Regions from separate parts of the Homo sapiens genome. Here regions 1, 2 and 4 are each linked to region 3. The links are contacts of gene promoters, found by promoter capture Hi-C in blood cells and fetal thymus (Javierre and others, 2016). All regions are on one chromosome and are shown on one strand. Each heading gives the region's core, a stretch centred on a gene start or on the middle of the fragment in contact. The rest is flanking DNA. Distances are from core to core; before and after follow the strand shown.

What was found. Contacts are between HindIII fragments. The CHiCAGO score rates a contact against its expected background, and 5 or more counts as called.
Region 1: a contact is called between a fragment that was not itself captured here and the fragment with the promoter of TNKS in region 3, in 1 of 17 cell types (neutrophils). The highest score is 5.2, in neutrophils.
Region 2: a contact is called between a fragment that was not itself captured here and the fragment with the promoter of TNKS in region 3, in 1 of 17 cell types (neutrophils). The highest score is 6.3, in neutrophils.
Region 4: a contact is called between a fragment that was not itself captured here and the fragment with the promoter of TNKS in region 3, in 1 of 17 cell types (neutrophils). The highest score is 5.6, in neutrophils.

What each region holds. Positions count from the first base shown.
Region 1 is chr8:9,102,838-9,107,707 of GRCh38, reverse strand. No RefSeq gene overlaps it. Among named protein-coding and RNA genes, the nearest start is that of PPP1R3B-AS1, 36 kb to the left of the region's middle. The HindIII fragment of the contact is 1,631 bases long and covers 2,755-4,385 here.
Region 2 is chr8:9,130,682-9,135,692 of GRCh38, reverse strand. LOC112268402 (a long non-coding RNA gene) reads left to right here and starts at 874. Exons shown (of 3, transcript XR_007060803.1): 1 at 874-1,624. RefSeq lists a silencer at 1,620-1,914 and an enhancer at 3,544-4,044. The HindIII fragment of the contact is 6,685 bases long and covers 1-5,011 here.
Region 3 is chr8:9,552,342-9,557,327 of GRCh38, reverse strand. TNKS (tankyrase) reads right to left here and starts at 1,416. Exons shown (of 27, transcript NM_003747.3): 1 at 716-1,416. The coding sequence starts at 1,388. RefSeq lists enhancers at 412-1,071, 1,072-1,733, 4,789-4,948 and a silencer at 1,154-1,313. The HindIII fragment of the contact is 11,121 bases long and covers 1-4,058 here.
Region 4 is chr8:9,061,725-9,066,782 of GRCh38, reverse strand. It overlaps a transcript of ERI1 not described here. Among named protein-coding and RNA genes, the nearest start is that of SNORD3I, 5.6 kb to the right of the region's middle. RefSeq lists a silencer at 761-967. The HindIII fragment of the contact is 7,622 bases long and covers 1-5,058 here.

The sequences.
Region 1 (4,870 bases), core at 2,321-4,820, 450 kb after region 3:
CTGTCTCAAAAAAACAAAAAAAAAAAAAAAAAAAAGCAAGTCTTAGTTAAGTGATACCCATAGAGTCCCTGGCAGAAATAGAGATAATAACATTAGAAGGATATTCTCACAACCCATGCCATGAGAAATGTTTACACACACACAATGTATATAAGAGCACAAATTGAAAATTACAAAATACATAAGACAACAATTCACCATTCATTCACCAAGAATGAGCAGACAAAATAAACAGGAGAATTAGACTTGATAGAACAGAATGGCAATCAGAAAGACAATATGAAAGAAAAATGTTTGAAATGATTAAATACATATCTACAGAAGACAAAACCCCTAGAAGAGAACAAGGCACTATGAAAGTAGAAAAAAAGATTTAAAAAAAGAATTTTAATGAATAAGTCTCATCATTGAGATTAAAATGCAGGGCACAGCGTAACTGCAGATCAGCAAAACTGAATAGCGAATATGGGAATTGTAAAATAGATCATTGTCATCTGCGATTGTAAAATATATGCACAGATTACCCTCTGCAACCAGAGAGATAAAGAGATAGAAAATATTACAGCATGTTAAGAGTAATGGAGATGAAGAGTCGACATTTCACCGGATTTGAGTTTTGAGAGAATGAATAAGAATTCATACTTGAAGATGTTAGTCCCAGGCAGGACAGAGGAAACCAAATCTATAGCAAGAAGCCTTGTACTGAAGCTACTGAACACACACACACACACACACACACACACACACACACGATTTACAAAACCTTAAAAATATACAAGGGAAAAGGGAGAGAGAGAGAGGAGAAAAAAAAAAAAACAGAAGGGAGGAGAGGAGGAAGCAATGAGAGAAAAAGACAGATTACACAGAGCATAACAATTCGCCTGACAAAAGGCTTCTCAGCGACAGCGATGGACACCAGAAGATGGTGGAATAATATTTCCAGCTGCTCGTGGAAAGTAATTTTAATCTAGAAACTATAGAGGGCTAAACTATTGAATAAATATAGAGATGAAACAAAAAAATATTCAGATTAAGGCCGGGTGTGGTGGCTCACACCTGTAATCCCAGCATTTTGGGAGGCAAGGCGGGTTGATCACTTGAGGCCAGGAGTTCGAGACCAGCCTGGCCAAGATGGTGAAACCCCATCTCTACTAAAAATACAAAAATTAGCTGGGCATGGTGGTGGGTGCCTGTAATCCCAGCTACTCAGGAGGCTGAGGCAGGAGAATCACTTGAACCCAGGAGGCGGAGGTTGCAGTGAGCTGAGATTGTGCCACTGCACTCCAGCCTGGGCAACAGAGCAAGACTCCATCTCTCTCTTTATATATATATACAAATTAAGACTAAGATAATATATTATTCACAGGCCCTCAATGAAAAAGAGTATATTTTCTAAAGAAGAAAACTGAACCCAAGTGGAAAGAATCAGATACAAGAAGCATTGGAATCTTAATCAAAAACAACATGACAATAAATGTGCAAAACAAGGGTTGGGGCAGTGGTCTCAGGGATTTGTTTCACTTTTCCACACACTTAGGGGCAGGGGATGGTTTGGGGATGAAACTGCTCCACCTCAGATCATCAGAGATTAGATTCTTATAAGAAGCGTGTAGCCTACATCCCTCACATGTACAGTTCACAATAAGGCTCAAGCTCCTATGAGAATGGAATGCTGCTGCTGATCTGACAGGAGGCAGAGCTCGGGCAGTAATGCGAGTGATGAGAAGCGGGTGTCAATACAGATGAAGCTTCTGACTGCTGCTCACCTCCTGCCCTGTGGCCCAGTTCCTAATAGGCCATGAACCAGTACCAATCCATGGCCTGGGGCTGGGGGATCCCTGAGTTAGGGGACTTGGAGGGCTTTTATGGAAAGAAATAGTTGAAATGCATACACTTTGACCTTCAAGAGACTCTGTACTATGTGAGGCTGGATGTGAGCCTGGCTCTAGCAGAGGGCTCCTTTGGTGACTAAGTGTAAAGTAAAGATGTTAAGGCGGATGCTTAATCCTCTGACCCTGCTGCACTTTTTTCTTAGAACTTCTCATTACCTGGCATGGTACTGGTTCATGCCAGTACTGTGCTTTATTTGTTTCTTGACTTTCTCTCCTATTATAATGTCCATGAGGAGTTGGACATGTTGGTGAATGCCTGTAACCCCAGTTACTTGGGAGGCAGAGGTGGGAGGATTGCCTGAGCCCAGGAGTTGGAGGCTGGAGTAAACAATGATTGTACTGCTGCACTCCAGCCTGGGCAACAGAGCAATACCCTGTCTCTAAGAAATAAGTAAATAAATAACTTCTATGAGGGCAAGGACTTTGTCTATTGTGTTCCCTGGCCTGGCGCATAATTAGTGCTTACATATGATTGAACACAAGAAAGGGAAAAAATTGTGCAGGGTTTCAAATGTATGGGGTGCAGACTTTCTTCTATGGGGAACAGGTGGGACGAGACTAAGGAAAATAACCAGCATTTCTGAGTGTCCACCAGGTCCTGGGCTATACACACAACATATTATCTTATTTTGCATGGATTGTGGAACAGCAAAAAGCATCTATTAGTGATCAAAATGAACTGGACTTCCAATTTGATTTAAAACACAAGCCAAGAATATTTTATTAATCTCAATTCATTGTTTTTAGATGTTACTGTGTATTTCCAAGGGAGATGTGAGCTTTGAGCTTATGTCTAATGCAATATCATGTGTCCGACTGAGGCAGCGGAGATAAGCTCCTGCTCTGTGTTCCTGCTAAAGCTTTCATACTCTGGCATGGCCACACTCAACACCACTTAATGATCTAGTCATTCCAGTTTTCTAACACCTGCCTGGATAGACCCCAGGCTGCAAAAACCCTGAAATTCCGGTTCTAACAACAAATCACTGAAAATCAGAAGGCCCCACCTTGAGCTCACAGCCAGCTCCACCTCCTTGAAGACGGGAGGCCCCTCATGCTCTGTGTTCTTAATGGCACCAGGAAGATCCCCTCCTGGGGCCTCTTGAGGTTAATTGTCTGCAGTAGAGATGTTGAAGCCAGAGAGACTCTCAAATTCTGATGCCTCTACCCCACGCCACCCCTACCAGCAAACTGTAGCCAGTTTCAGATGTACCCTGACCGGAATAGTTCTTTCCATGAATGGCGTCGGACACTGTGTCCTCACTCAAAGTCCCGATGGCATGAGGGTGACCTTGTACACACAGGATCCAGGGCAAAGAACAAGACGTATTCCCAGTCCTCACCTACAGCCAACACGTGACCTAAGAAGACCTTTTGGAGAACAGCCTGAGCAGCTGGGCAGCCATATAGAAAACTGCTAGCTGTGCATCTACAGGCTGATGGAACAATCACGACCTGTCCTCATGGAGAAGCGTCCGAGGTGTGGCCCCATGTTCCTGCCACACTGCATTGACTCTTTCTCCAATGGAGTCTCGGGTACTCTTCCTTTCTGCCTTTTCTGGTATTTGCAATCTCCACCTTCACCACTTGCTTCTTTCCCCGGGGTTGAAACAAGTTCACAAATGAACACATAAATAAACCCTTCCTCTTTCCCCTGTACATCTCCTTACTCTATCATCACCCACTCTCCCTGAATTTGTGCCCGAAATAACCCCTGCTGCTGACAGCCCCCAAGAGCAGCCCAGTCGACTTATCCAAGGGTCCTTTCTTCTTCCTTTGAACATAACTTTAAATAAGTCTTTTGTCCTAGATAGCACGCTCTAGAAGTACAAGGAGTACATCTTAGACTTCTTGTTAACCCCGAGCTTTGTACGCAGCAGGTGCTCACAATTGCTAGAAGGGATGGAGAGAAAAAGGGATTGATTCAGAAAATGATGTCACTGCAGGCAGTATTCTTTCAAAGGAGTGAGTTTCTGAACTTGTAGACCTTGAAGAAATTGTAAAGGATCTGATTTCAGACCCAGTGGAAGCTGCAAGAACAATGTGGTTTCGAGTTCTGCTGTTTCATTATCCCGGGTTGATTCAGCTGGCTGGGCGGGTGCCCTCTTTTCTCTCTAGGAGCTCCAGCTGCCCCTCCAAGCCCCTCTTCTGGCCTGGCATTCCCCAGCCTGCAGTGAAGGTCAGAGCAGATCCTACCGTATTCAGAGAAGTAGGAAACGCGAGCTTGAATCTTCTTCAGTGTTCTCAAGAGAGTGAGATATTGGCAAGCACCTGTTTTCTCAGCACTGAGAAAAGGGATCAGGGATTGGTGAGTGGAAGACACTAATTCAAGTAATGAAGGGCTTTTGCTCTCATTTTGACAAGATGAAAAACCACACAATAATTTATGAACCACGCAGGCAACTTTTAATCACCACGATTACTATAGACAGGCAAGGGCAGTGTTGATAGGAGTGTGGGAGAGAGCTTCCTGGAGGAGGTGAGGTGGAAGCTTCTCCTGGTGCAATGTGCAGTGTGGGAACAATGTCCAAGAACCATGGTTTGCAGGTCTGTGGCATGACCTAAAGGCTTTGGAAGGCCCCAGAAGACAAAAGCACATGTCAAAGCTACAGACACTTTGCAGTTCCTTTCAAAGGGCTCACAGGATGGAAATGGAGTCAGCGAGAGGGGCATCTACCATGCTGTTAAACGGAGAAGAGAGGTTTGGAGATTTGGGGACTGGGCTTTTGCACACCAGGGACAAAGCATGAGTGCAGCTTGTGATAAGAATTGATTTCTTCCCGGCCCCAGTCACCCCTGCTTTTGGTGATAGTTTCCATTTAAAACCGAATTCCTATGAAAGGAGCGCGGGGGCCTGCCCCGTGCCTGCGACCTGGGGTGGAGCAGACAAACACTGAAAAAGGGCTGACATGTATGGATGCCTCTGGTGATAGCAGTGGTTATATTTAGTCCCAAGCTCAAGTTAAACAGGGGGCCTC
Region 2 (5,011 bases), core at 1,631-4,130, 420 kb after region 3:
CTAGTGTGTAGATGCAAAAAGTGAGCTCCGTACGTAACTTTCTCCAGATTTTTACACTCTGCCCACAACTTGCCTTCACAGACATAGGAAGGGTGGAGACGTTAACTCTGGCTTTCGTGAATGTCTATTTGAGGTTCAGTGAGGTTTTAATAATCATTACCTAATCATAAGTTGTGAGACCAACACCTCAGGAATGTCTGGAATAAAAATAAGAAAAAAACACTTTTCTAGAGCAATGTCTCCAGAATGGCAAATGTCCAGCTCTGAGTAATTCAATTGAACATTTACCACTCAGCTTCCATATACAAAGCAGTGCCAGGTGCTTTTCCCACAACCCCCACAGAGGACATTCACATATTCCGGGTGACGCCTCTGGTGAGCATGGAGAGCCACTGGAAGGTATTGGAATTCAGGAAGTCTGGCTTCCAATCCAAGCTCTGCCACCGACCTCTTTGGCTTCCCATCTCCTGTCAGTGGCTCTACTGAAGGGGCCCTGAGCATGTTTAGTAGGAATAAGGTAACCAGGGGCTCTAGCAGTGCCCTGAATGCTTTTGAGAGTCAGCCAACATGTTCATTTTTAAGAGGTTTCTAAATATAGACTCTCATAAGAAGTACCTTGTACACTATTTGTGTCCTCTCCAGGAATCACGGGAGTGAATCACATTCCAGACACTTGCTTGGACTTCATCACATCCTCAGTGACTGGGCTGGAAGAAATATCACAGAGCTCTCTTTTTATGGGTAAAGAGAGGAAGGTGGCTGGGCACAGTGGCTCACATCTGCAATCCCAGCACCTTGGGAGGATAGCTTGAGGCTAGGAGTTCGAGACCAGCCTGGGCAACATAGTGAGACCCCATCTCTTAAAAAAAAAAAAATTTAATAGCTGGGTGTGGTACCGTGTCTGTATACCAGCTGTTCAGGGGGCTGAGGCAGGAAGATGACTTGAATCAGGAGTTCGAGGCTTCAGTGAGCTGTGATTGTACCACTGCTCTCTAGGCTGGGCAACAGTGTGAGACTCTGTCACCAAAAAAAAAAAAAAAAAAAAACAAAGAAAGAGCGAGAGAGTGAGAGACAAAGGCCCTGAGTGAGTTTCTTCAAGTCCCAGAGCCCATCAGTGACTGAGCCAGGAGGACGACATAAGTCTTTGTTCCAAGAACTGTCCCTGTGAACCAGAATCAATCTCATAGAACTGAGAGACCAAGATGATGATTCTCAAAAGTTGTCCCCCATGCTGGAGAGATACAGTTTCCAGGAAAGGAGTGAACATAATCATTTTTCTACAGGAAAAGCTGCATTCCTCCCAAGGGCTTCCTCAGCACGTACTAGGACCACAGACCGTGTAGAAGTATGAAAGTTAGAATGAAATGATGTGGGTCTACGAGGGCCTGATTAAACCTCAGGCTAAATTGGTGGAAGGAAACCACCAAGGAACCGTGGCTGCAGGGGCATTCCAGGAGAGAGGCCGAATTCTTGGCCGCAGCATTCCCTTCCACCAGAATAGAAACCCTGTGTGGCACGGAAAGGCTTTAAGTAAACCTCATTCCTTCTTGTCACCTCCCCTTGGAGGAGAAGAGAGAGAGGGAAACTCAACAGATGCCTTTTGCTTTCTGCATGGGATTCTCTGGTAAGTGACATGCTTGCATTGATGTTGTTCATTCCACAAACACTACTTTGCCTCTCTAGCACTGGGGGACCCGGGGCTGGGCCTTGGATTTGGCAAAGGTAGGATGAGGATACAGAATCGTCAAAATTCTCTGGGGCCAAAGGCATCAATAATGATCCAAGATCTCAGCCCTCTACCCAAAGCTACAAGATCAAGTGGCCGGGTTGGGGGTCGGCAACCTTTTCCTGTAAAGAACTAGGTAGTGAATGTTTTAGGTTTTGCGGGCCACTTGTGGTCTCTGTCACATATTTGTTTTTATTTAAATGCCCTTTAAAAATGTAAAAACCGTTCTTAGCTCGTGGGCCATACTAAAGCAGGACCAGGGCAGACTTTGTCCCTCAGGCCATGGTTCGCCAGCCCCAAGCAAGAGTCACATAGGAAGAGAATTGAGAGCCGACTTGCTGAAGTCTTGAGGCCGCAGGTTATTTTCAGTGGCTTGCTTTCTTTTCTTTTTAAGATGATCATATAATTTATGATCTAAACTGGGACGCTTTCGAGAATGAATGAGGCTCCTGTGAGTTAGCCAGGAGCACCCGGTGTACACTAGGAACACCTTGGGCAAACCTGACAGCACGATCCCTGTCCGAGCTCACCTCTCCTCTGGGATCTTCTTAGACCTCTCCAGAGCTCGGAAAGACCAGGCTGGTCTTGTGCCGGGAATCAGTTCTGGCTGGATTGTGCTCTTTTTGGATGGGTTATCATGGAGTGGTGATTTAGTCTGTGGTTTAGATTTGTTTTTATCGCTTGGTTTTCTTTCCTAATTGTAGTGCTGGTGGCCAAAAGCCCTCTGGAAATTTCAGCCAATTCACTCTTAACAGTAGCTTCTTTAGGAGGAAAGGGGTGATTCATGGTTTGGGCTTATTTCCTACCAGTGCTTTTCCTCCACCTCTCCCCCGTGCCCAACAAATCGAGGCTGGCCAGGCTCCCGAGGAAGCTGCTCATTGTGGACAGAGACATTGAGGTCGGATCTTGCAGTATTCCAAAACCCAAGTCCCCAGAAAGTAACATCAAAGCGCTCCTAGGAATTTAACTAACTCCAGGGTCTCAGCTCATCTTTCTCTAGCCCAGCAAGTTCAAGAGGCCTTAATTAAGCACCGCAGGAGACCAAGGAGGTAGAAATTCATCTCTGAAGTGCTCTCTCTGGGCCCTGGCCCTGAAGACCCCCTGCTTTCCTGGTGGCACCACGAGGGGCAGGCACACATGCTCTTCCATTTCACCTCTGTTGCCTCCTCCCGCTGGTATTTACCGTTACTCCCATGCTGAAGGTGGGTCTGTAATGCCGAGGACCCTAACATTAGTGCTGAAGGGTCCTGGAAAGGCTTCAGGAATCCCCAGACATATCAAAGTGGAACTCTTCACCACCAGAGGAGGGTTAGTTTTCCAGCATCCATCCGAATATCACACATCACCACCTGCACTGCTAGAGCTGATCAGGAAGAAAAACCGGTCACTGCTTCAGACGGGCTCCCTTCCAGAGTCACTGTGTGGATTGCCTTCTGGTCAACATCTTGGTCTCATCTGAGTGTGGAATTAGCCAGTTGAAATTTCACTGATTTTATTATCATTACACCATTTTATTATAAATTATTATATTAATTCTTCATCATTAGTCAATTATTTATTGAACCTATTACTGAAAGAATTCTCCTAATTTTTGTTTTTTGTTTTTGTTTTCACATAGAGTCTCACTCTGTCACCCAGGCTGGAGTGCAGTGGCACAATCTTGGCTCACTGAAACTGCCACCTCCCATCTCCCAAATATTTTCATAAGATCTTTTTGAACACTGCTTTGCACGTTTGCTCATGCAACTAAGTGTTTGTTCACACAAATTTTCCAGGGGCTTTTCTCATCAATTGATCAATCACCTCACCACCTTGGGCTCTCGTCGCTTCTATTGGTCACACACTATATTACACACACAGACTTTGAAAACAAACATTTTTTAAACAGTATTTTCTCCAGAAAAAAGTCCCTCTCATCCTGGTTGATTTTCCCACTTTGAAATGTCATGGCTTTGCCCCAGGCCTTCTGTAAGGCAGGACACACTCTGTCCTCCCTGGGCAAGCAACACTGAATAAGTGACATTCTGCTGTCAGTGGCAGAAGCCAGACAGACAATGACAGGGGGCACTCATTCCAGCCCTCCAGGACACCACTCACGCCTCATCTCAGCCTCTGCACTCCCTCCACCAGACAGGGAATGCAGAGGCCCAGGTCTCCAGCTGCAACCTCAGTCCTGTGCAGCTGAACTCAGACATGAGCCGCTGGTGGTTTTCTAACATTTTATGAAGACATGGAATGTGTTCTTAAATCAAATCCAATGTGAAGCCATGGACAAGTAGGTAGAAAACAGGGCCGGGCGCGGTGGCTCATGCCTGTCATCCCAGCAATTTGGGAGGCTGAGGCGGGCGGATTACGAGGTCAGGAGATCGAGACCATCCTGGCTAACATGGTGAAACCCCGTCTCTACTAAAAAATGCAAAAAAATTAGCCAGGCGTGTGGCGGGCTCCTGTAATCCCAGCTACTGAGGAGGCTGAGGCAGGAGAATGGCGTGAACCCGGGAGGCGGAGCTTGCAGTGAGCCGAGATTGCACCGCTGCACTCCAGCCTTGGGGCCACAGAGCAAGACTCCGTCTCAAAAAAAAGAAAGAAAAAGAAAAAAAAGAAAATAGGCCGCCCAAGATAGAAATCGCACCCATTTCCCCCCTCCCTGAAGCATCTCCTGAGAGCCCTAGGGCCCCAGAAATACGGGTGTAAACCCTTTCCTTCCCACACAGGAATTCCACTCTCCCGCCTCCTAGGCTAATGAATGTGGTTGAAGGATATCCTATAGAAAAAGGCAAAAGCAAGTGAACAAGCAAAACCTGCATGGGAAGGAAACACAGCTGTGGACCCCAAAATAAATGTGGACTCTGGTTATGTTTTCCTTCTGTTCTCAAGGATACGTATCATGTCCTTTCACAAAAAAAAAAATTGGCTTGTTCACACAGAACCACACTTGAGCTGCCTATTATATATATGTGATTTATATTTACATTCATACATTAAACTGCTTGACAGGGCAACGTCTATTCCACACTAATATAACACATAAGACAAAATTATTGAGTGCCTCTATGGGCAAGGGTATGACTGGGAATAAGTACTCTATGGGCATGTAGAAAGAGATAGCATGTCATTGTCACCAAGCTATTTAGAATCCTCCAATAGTTACTTTAGTCTTTGCCCAAATTATACATTTTTTACTCCATTTGCTTGCATCTAAGACCAGAGAGTCCTCATGTTTCCTTTTTACAATTTAAACTGTTGTTTTGAAATAATGGCAGATTCACATGCAGTTTTAAGAAA
Region 3 (4,986 bases), core at 167-2,666:
CCAAATGCTCGCACAACATCATTTTATGATTTTTGCCCATGAGAAAACTGAGGCAACTGACACGAGGTAAATGGTCTGCTAGACAACAAATAATAGTGGCCACAACATCAAAGCCTATATTTCTTCCATCATCATATAATGCATCCAAATATTCTTCTCCAGTTGTTTCACATTGGCATATTTTGGTCTCCCCGTCTAGACTGCAAACTTCTTTAGAAGAAGGGAAACTTTCAAACACTTCATTTATGTCTTTCATTGGGTTATTAAGGCTACAATAGATCCTCAAACATGTGTTGGGTTGTATTAAACCTCTTTTGGTCTGGACTGTCCTCAAAGGACATACCCTTGTAAAAACAAAATAAACTAGCACACAAACGACAAAACTACTCTAAAGCTGTCCAAATCTAACTGTATTCCTGCACACCAAAAACTAAAGTGTAAATATATCCATATGCAGAGACTACCAACTACAGTGAGTTTTGTAATGAGTACTGTGCAACCACTGAAGAATTCCTTGGATTCACTTATCCCCCCCAACCACGCCCCCATCACCCAGGCACCACCAAAAGAAAGGAACCTCCAGTCTTCTGGTGAGGTGATGAAGAACCATAACCACGCCCCCACTTTGTCCCATCACAATAACCTGTTTTCTTGTCCTAACCGGACCCTGCACCCAAACCCATAACCCTTAATAAACAATTCAAAAGTCTCTGACCTGCAGCGAAGTGCAGGGGAGAAGACTTCCGGCCGGCCATGTCCTTTGCATTTACGTTTGCCGCGTCCACCAGCCTCTTTACCCGGGACACGTCCCCATTGCGACAGGCCTCCAGCAGTTCCCGTAGGGCCCCGCTCACTGCTGGGACCCCTGTCCCAGGTCCTGCTGCCCCAGGCCCCAGTGGTGCTGTGCTGCTAACTCCGGCCGCCTCGGGGCTCTCCGCCAAGCTCGATCCAGGGGAGGATGGAGAGGAAGATGAGGAAGAAGTCGGGGAAGAAGAGGACGACGGTGAATTGTTACTGCCACTGCCGGCTGGGTTGGGAGCGACCCCAGCGGCAGATGAAGTAGAAACCGCTGGGACCACGGGAGCGGCGGCGACGGTACAGATTGTGCTGGTGGTACTGCAACAGCTGGTACCGTCAACCGGGTCCGGGGATCGGGGCCTGTCGGGCGGATCCCGACTGCCATCCCCCTCCGGCAGCGCTAGGCCGTGCCGCGGGGAGGCGAAGGGGGCCAGGCCGCTGGCCGTGGGAGAGGCTGGGGTGGTCCCCGGGGCCAGGCCAGGGCTGAGTGGGGGAGGAGGTGGCGGCGGCGGCGCTGAAGCCCCTGGGGCGGGCTGGAGCTGTTGTTGATGATGGTGGTGATGATGCTGAGAGCGACGCGACGCCGCCATCTTCGGACTCCCCTAGCACTGTCACTGCGGCAACGGCCCCCACCGCCCGCCCTCACTTCCGACTGTCGGACCAATCAGCATCCAGCGCACAGGAAATGATGCTAGGCGGGGTAGCAGGGGCCAAAGAGAAGGAGGGAAGTATTGGGAGCTCAGAGAACAGCCAAGGGAACGGGGCGGGGCTTTGTCACTGAGAGGCGGGCTTTGTGACGTGGTGGCGGGCCGGCTGGAGAGATTTGAATGCTGGAACCAGCTTCTGCCTAGATGGGAAACATTTCCTGCATTTCTCACTTTCAGTCGGCTTTCTTTGCCCTGCTCCGCTCTGTTTCCCTTAGTCTCCCTTTGCTTGCTCCAGAGCCAGCTGTTGAGATGCAGATCAGAGCAAGCAGGGAATGTGTCCGTTATCATCTATTAAGCGTCCTTGTCTGAAAAATGGAACTTATAGTACCAACCTCACAGAATTATTAGCGGGATTAAAAGAGCTAACAGACAAAGCGCTCTGCCAGTAAAACACAAGTATAATTAGCCCGTTGGTAATTTTTTAAATTATAGTATTTCTTTTCCAGGTGTCCCCTTGAGCTCTTGTCCCTTCCCTATAATTTTTCTCACCCTATGTGCTTTAATTCCTCGTTTTTAAATGCTGGTTCAGATTGCTAGGATTGGCGTTCCAGCTCTGCCATTTGTTGTTTATATATGTACTTGCTATTTCATCACTCTATGCCTGTTTTTCTCTGTAAAATTGAAATAACAATAGTGCAATAAGTGTGAATTATTAAAATTATGATTTTTTTTTCCTATTCTGCTCTCTCTGAAATTTTATTTTTCACCCTAAGTGTAACTAATTATGAATATATTCCTTTCTTTTGAATTCTGGCTTAGCTTAGCCTCTCCCACACCCGAAACAGATAAAAACCTGATTGCTAGGCTGGTCACGGTGGCTCATGCCTGTAATCCTAGCACTTTGGGAGGCCGAGGCCGGCGGGCCACTTGAGCCCGGGAGTTCAAGATCAGCCTGGCCATCACGGCGAAGCTCCATCTCTACAAAAAATACACAGATTAGCTGGGCAAAGTGGCACATGCGTGTAGTCCCAGCTACTCAGGAGTCTGTTGGGAGGATCACTTGAGCCCGGGAGGCAGAGGTTGCTGTGAGCCGAGGTCACACCACTGCACTCCAGCCTGGGTGACAGAGGGCGGAGACCCTGTCACAAAAACAACAAGAAAACATAACAAAAACCTGATTGCTGTCCATTACTCACCATCAGGTGCTATTTTTCAGCAACTGCTTTTTCTGTCTTTCCCCCAACCTATGTATACTTTTGTTTTTCTACTATCAAAAGATGTATCCATGAATGAGATAATCCCATTGAGGACTCCATTTCATACCTACTGTTCAATAGTAAAGCAGGCATTGTAGAAGTATACAGAAACAGCATTATTCCAATAGAGTGGACACAGATGGAAATTCTGTAAGAGAAACAAGATTTAGATGAGTCAAGCAGAATATTAAACTAGGTGATAAATTGTTTCATGTGTTCATTGTTAAATATGATTTATGTGATGTTAATATTCCCATTTAAGTAAATAGATGAGTTTATTTGGGGTTAGTAAGTAAATACAATAAGGTCAGGAACATAATTAGTATTACGAGTGGCATTTATTTTCATCTAATCTGGGGTTACAGATTATAATTCTTAACATTATCCAGCTGTGTGATGAAATGTGCCATTGTTCGCAGTAGACACCGGACAAAAAGTGTAGCTGGATAGGAAAACTCACATCAGTGCAACTAAAATCAGTCCACAACATTCTTCTTCATGCTTCTGTTTTTTAATCTTAACTTCTTGATGTACAGCAGAGAACCATTGAGAAGTGGGAGTGATCCAACATGATATGTTAGATATCCATAACACACCATGTGTCCCCTAAATAATGGCCTCCTGGAATGGGAGGCATAAGAAATATCTCATCTGGTCTCCCAGTGGTCAGTTACTCATAGAAAGTAGTGATGTTCAGACTTATTCAAAATGCATCTGTTGTGTCTATCAGTACAAAAAATAATAATAACAATAAAATAAGGAAGTCTCTGCTGGACAGAGATTTTTAAAAACTAAATTGCCGGCCAGGCCCAGTAGCTCACACCTGTAATCCCAGCACTTTGGGAGGCCAAGGTGGGCAGATCACGAGGTCAGGAGTTCCAGACCAGCCTGGCCAACATGAGGAAACCCCATCTCTACTAAAAATACAAAAATTAGTTGGGCGTGGTGGTGCGCGCCTGTAATCCCAGCTACTGCGGAGGCTGAGGCAGGAGGATGGCTTGAACCCAGGAGGCAGAGGTTGCAGTGAGCCGAAATCGTGCCACTGCACTCCAGCCTGGGTGGCAGAGCAACATTGTCTCAGCAAAACAAACAAACAAACAAAAAACAAAAAACTAAATTGCCTGAAACTGGACTGGAAAACCATGTCTGGAAATGCATTCAATCAACTGGAAATTGCTTTCTTCCCCTCGAGCAGAAAGTAGGAAAAGTACTTAACATTAAGTATTTATGAAGTTTGGGTTTATACCGACTAATGTTGAGCTCCAAACATGAAAGGACACATGCTATTACCTAATCTTCTGTGGCTAAACACAATTCCAGGAGGAATGCACTATATCATAGTGGAAAGAGCAAAGCTTGGGGTCAAACAAACCTGGGCTTGAAAGTCACATCTCTGATGATTACTAGTTGGCTAATCTTGATAGGTATGCTTCAGCTCTCTCAGCCTAAAATGTTGACCTTAGTTTAGCACTGTCATGAGGATTAAAAGCCTAGGTGTTTTTTAAGCACTCTTTGAATGTTAGATCCGTTCTCTTACATGGCATGCATAAAGTGTTAACATGAACTCACAGCCACTATTGATAGCTTTCCCCTCGCAACTTCCTTTGTGACAAAGATAGGGGCTGGGAATAAATATCCATCGTTTTACACAGAATGGGAATCTAAAGCAAAGAAACATTAGGTTTAATTCTTTCCTTATCTGATAATTCAGGATTCTTTATAAACTCTGTCTCTAAACTATTGTTGATCACAGGTGTGTAGTATCTTATTTTCATAAGCGTTTTCACAAAAACAATATCCTGGCCGAGTACAGTGGCTCACACTTATAATCCCAGCATTTTGGGAAGCTGAGGCAGGAGAATGCTTGATCCCAAAAAATCAAGATCAAAGATCAGCCTGGGCAACAAAGTGAGACCCTGTCTACACACACACACACACACACACACACACACAAAGTATACCCAAGTACTACAAAAATGGGAGCACATAGCACTCTCTTAGGCTATACTGTTGACACAAAAGAAAAGCCACCAACTCAAAGGACACCGATCTTTTGGGCTGTGTTCTGATGTTTGCTTTCTTACCCTATGGGGTTCGCATGGACACTCTGAAAATTACACAATCATGAACTTGCACAAGTTCCATATTTCAACTGGAATTGGTGTGTCATTCCATCCATATACTTCCCATTGATCTCCCACCGTATTTGGTATTCTGGTAGTATTTCTACTAAGTCTAGTTATTCTTCGATCCCCTCTGCAATGCCTCCTCCGCAAATCCACGAG
Region 4 (5,058 bases), core at 1,298-3,797, 490 kb after region 3:
AACTCACCCGCCTGTCACATTTTAGTCTCTGCAGTGGGGGCTGCCAGACCTCTTATTTCTTCCTTTCTTTTAAATTTCAGGTAAGAAAATAGAATACTTAAAATGTTAAGTATGTCCCTTCCTTTAAAAACAATGACCGGCACTCATAACTGAACATTCCTTGAATAACAAAATGTCCTACATCTTCACAAAATCATGCATCTGATTCCTTTCTGCCTGTCATTTGTCACCCTCCTTCACCGTGCCCAACAACCCAAAGGCCAGGTGAACACAAAATCAAATCACTGCCAGTGTTGGTGAGTTCAAAAGTCATCAGGTGCCCACTGGCCGCTCTGAAAAGCCATCTTTGCATTGTCCCCATTTTATTGGCAGAGTCCTCAAACTCTTGCTTTCTTCTTATCCAACACATGGGATCACCGGGGAGCCCGCTGTGTCACAGACATCCATCTGTGGACACCAACTCTGAGATGACCACCAACCACTTAAAGGAGAAGAAACAAGTTGTGCAGGTGGAGAAAGGGGAAGAGATGCCCCTGCTAGTGGGAACCCCAATGAAGAAAATGGGGAGATGAGGCTGACGATAAGGAGGACAAAGAAGAGGAAGAAGGTGGGGAGGAAGAGGAGGAGGAAGAAGGTGGAGGCAAGGAAGAGGGTGGAGATGAATGAAGAAGCTAGAGCCCCTGGTGGCAAACAGGGCACTGCAGATAGAGAAGATAGTGGTGTTGATATCGCAAAGCAGAAGATGAGGAGGATAGCCAGGCAGCAGAAAAGTCAAAGAAAAAAAAGGCGGCCGTGACCTATTCACCCTCCACTTCCCTTCTCATAAACTAGACATGGTCACCTTGGAGAGAGAGGCCCAGCCACTGCCGACAGCGCCACCTGCTGGTGACACACTCTCCACCACCCACCCAAAACCACAACATGAGTTTGCAACAGGAGAGGAAAAAGGAATCAAAACTTCCAAGGCCCTGCTTTTTATTTTTATTTTTTTAAGTAATTTTAAAAGGAGATTTGTTAGTATTTTTTAGTTTCCTTTTATATTTTTGCACGTATTGTCAGGAGTCAGCCTTTTTTTTTTTTTTTTTTTTGAGATGGAGTCTCGCTCTGTTGCCCAGGCTGGAGTGCAGTGCTGCGATCTCAGCTCACTGCAAGCTCCGCCTCCCGGGTTCATGCCATTTTCCTGCCTCAGCCTCCCGAGTAGCTGGGACTACAGGCGCCCCCCACTACGCCTGGCTAATTTTTTGTATTTTTAGTAGAGACGGCGTTTCACCACGTTAGCCAAGATGGTCTCGATCTCCTGACCTCGTGATCTGCCTGCCTCAGCCTCCCAAAGTGCTGGGATTACAGGTGTGAGCCACTGCGCCCAGCTGGCAGTCAGCCATTTTTAATGATCTCAGGTGATCAAACCAGCCTACTGAGCATCCTCTGCCTTACTTCTGACTTTACTTGTGGTGTGACCAAGTTCATCATCACCTCAAAGAACAAAAGAAACCTCGTAGAAAGAAGCAAAAACAACTAAACAATCTTATTCTGAGCATTCCAGTAACTTTTTTTGTACATGCACTTAGCTGTACTATAGATAGTTGGTGTCAGGCCTCTGAGCCCAAGCTAAGCCATCATATCCCCTGTGGCCTGCACGTACACATCCAGATGGCCGGTTCCTGCCTTAACTAATGACATTCCACCACAAAAGAAGTGAAAATGGCCTGTTCCTGCCTTAACTGATGACATTATCTTGTGAAATTCCTTCTCCTGGCTCATCCTGGCTCAAAAGCTCCCCTACTGAGCACCTTGTGACCCCCACTCCTTCCTGCCAGAGAACAACCCCGCTTTTTCCTTTACTTACCCAAATCCTATAAAACAGCCCCACCCCTGTCTCCCTTCGCTGACTCTCTTCTCGGACTCAGCCCGCTTGCACCCAGGTGAAATAAACAGCCCTGTTGCTCACACAAAGCCTGTTTGGTGGTCTCTTCACATGGATGCGCATGAAATTTGGTGCCATGACTCGGATCAAGGGACCTCCCTTGGGAGATCAATCCCCTGTCCTCCTGCTCTTTGGTCCGTGAAAAAGATCCACCTAGGACCTCAGGTCCTCAGACCCACCAGCCCAAGGAACAACTCACCAATTTTAAATTGGGTAAGCAGCCTCTTCTTACTCTCTTCTCCAACCTCTCTCACTATCCCTCAACCACTTTCTCCTTTCAATCTTTGCACCACCCTTCAATCTCTCACTTCTCTTAATTTCAATTCCTTTCATTTTCTGGTAGAGACAAAGGAGACACGTTTTATCCGTGGACCCAAAACTCCGGTGCCAGTCACGGACTAGGGAAGGCAGCCTTCCCTTGGTGTTTAATCATTGTAGGGACGCCTCTCTGATAATTCACCCATGTTTCAGAGGTGTCTGACCACTCAAGGACGCCTGCCTTTGTCCCTCACCCTTAGCGGCAAGTACCGCTTTTCTGGGGTGCAAGAACCCCCCAACTCCTTCTCTCCATGTCTCCACCCCTTCTCTGCTTTTCTGGGGGGCAAGAAACCCCCCCAACCCCCCTTCTCCTTCACCCTTAGCGGCAAGTATCGCTTCTCTAGGGGGCAAGAACCCCCCGATCCCTTATTTCCATGCCCCGATCTCTTATCTCTGTGCCCCAATCCCTTATTTCCATGCCCCGACCTCTTATCTCTGCACCCTGACCCCTTATTTCCACACTCCAACCTCTTATCTCTGTGCCCCAACCCCTTATTTACACACCCCAACCCCTTTCCTGCTTTTCTGGAGGGTAAGAACCCCTGAACCCCTTCCCTCCGTGTCTCTACTCTCTCTTTTCTCTGGGCTTGCCTCCTTCACTATGGGCAACCTTCCACCCTCCATTCCCCCTTCTTCTCCCTTAGCCTGTGTTCTCAAGAACTTAAAACCTCTTCAACTTACACCTGACCTAAAACCTAAATGCCTTATTTTCTTCTGCAATGCCACTTGACCCCAGTATAAACTCTACAGTGGTTCCAAATAGCCAGAAAACGGCACTTTCAATTTTTCCATCCTACAAGATCTAAATAATTCTTGTTGTAAAATGGGCAAATGGTCTGAGATGCCCGATGTCCAGGCATTCTTTTACACATTGGACCCTCCCTAGTCTCTGTTCCCCATGCAACTCATCCCAAATCTTCCTTCTTTCCCTCCCGCCTGTCCCCTCAGTCCCAACCCCAAGCATCGCTGAGTCTTTCTAATCTTCCTTTTCTACAGACCCATCTGACCTCTCCCCTCCTTGCCAGGCCGAGCTAGGTCCCGATTCTTCCTCAGCCTCCGCTCCTCCACCCTATAATCCTTTTATCACCTCCCCTCCTCACACCCGGTCTGGCTTACAGTTTCATTCCATGACTAGCCCTCCCCCACCTGCCCAGCAATTTCCTCTTAAAAAGGTGGCTGGAGCTAAAGGCATAGTCAAGGTTAATGCTTTTTCTTTATCTGACCTCTCCCAAATCAGTTAGTGTTTAGGCTCTTTTTCATCAAATATAAAAAACCCAGCCCAGTTCATGGCCCCTTTAGCAGCAACTCTGAGACGCTTTACAGCCCTAGACCCTAAAAGGTCAAAAGGCCGTCTTATTCTCAATATACATTTATTTTATTACCCAATCTGCTGCCGACATTAAATAAAGCTCCAAAAATTAAATTCCGTCCCTCAAACCCCACAACAGGACTTAATTAACCTGGCCTTCAAGGTGTACAATAATAAAGTAGAGGCAGCCAAGTAGCAACATATTTCTGAGTTGCAATTCCTTGCCTCCACTGTGAGACAAACCCCAGCCACATCTCCAGCACACAAGAACTCCAAACACCTGAACCGCAGCTGCCAGGGGTTCCTCCAGAACCTCCTCCCCCAGGAGCTTGCTACAAGTGCCAGAAATCTGGCCACTGGGCCAAGGAATGCCCACAGCCCGGGATTCCTCCTAAGCCACGTCCCATCTGAGCGAGACCCCACTGAAAATCAGACTGTTCAACTCACCTGGCAGCCACTCCCAGAGCCCCTGGAACTCTGGCCCAAGGCTCTCTGACTGACTCCTTCCCAGATCTTCTCAGCTTAGCGGCTGTAGACTGACACTGCCGGATTGCCTCGGAAGCCTACAGGACCATCACAGATACTCTGATTAACTCTCACAGTGGAGGTTAAGTCCGTCCCCTTCTTAATCAATACGAAGGCTACCCACTCCACATTACCTTCTTTTCAAGGGCCTGTTTCCCTTGCCTCCATAACTGTTGTAAGTATTGACAGCCAGGCTTCTAAACCTCTTAAAACTCCCCAACTCTGGTGCCAACTTAGAAAACATTCTTTTTTGCACTCTTTTTTAGTTATCCCCACCTGCCCGGTTCCCTTATTAGGCCAAGACATTTTAACTAAATTATCTGCTTCCCTGACTGTTCCTGGACTACAGCCACACCTCATTGCTGCCCTTTTCCCCAGTTCAAAGCCTCCTTCGCATTCTCCTCTCGTATCCCCGCACCTTAACCCACAAGTATAAGATACCTCTACTCCCTCCTTGGCGACTGATCATGCACCCCTTACAATCTCATTAAAACTTAATCACCCTTACCCACTCAATGCCAATATCCTGTCCCACAGCACGCTTTAAAAAGATTAAAGCCTGTTTTCCCTCACCTGCTACAACATGGCCTTTTAAAGCCTATAAACTCCCCTTACAATTCCCCCATTTCACCTGTCCTAAAACCAGACAAAGTTTACAGGTTAGTTCAAGACTGTGCCTTATCAACCAAATTGTTTTGCCTATCCACCCCGTGGTGCCAAAACCATATACTCTCCTATCCTCAATGCCTCCCTCCACAATCCATTATTCTGTTCTGGATCTCAAACATGCTTTCTTTACTATTCCTTTGCACCCTTCATCCCAGCCTCTCTTCGCTTTCCCTTGGACTGACCCTGACACCCATCAGGCTCAGCAAATTACCTGGGCTATACTGCTGCAAAACTTCACGGACAGCACCCATTACTTCAGTCAAGCCCAAATGTCTTCCTCATCTGTTACCTATCTCGGCATAATTCTCATAAA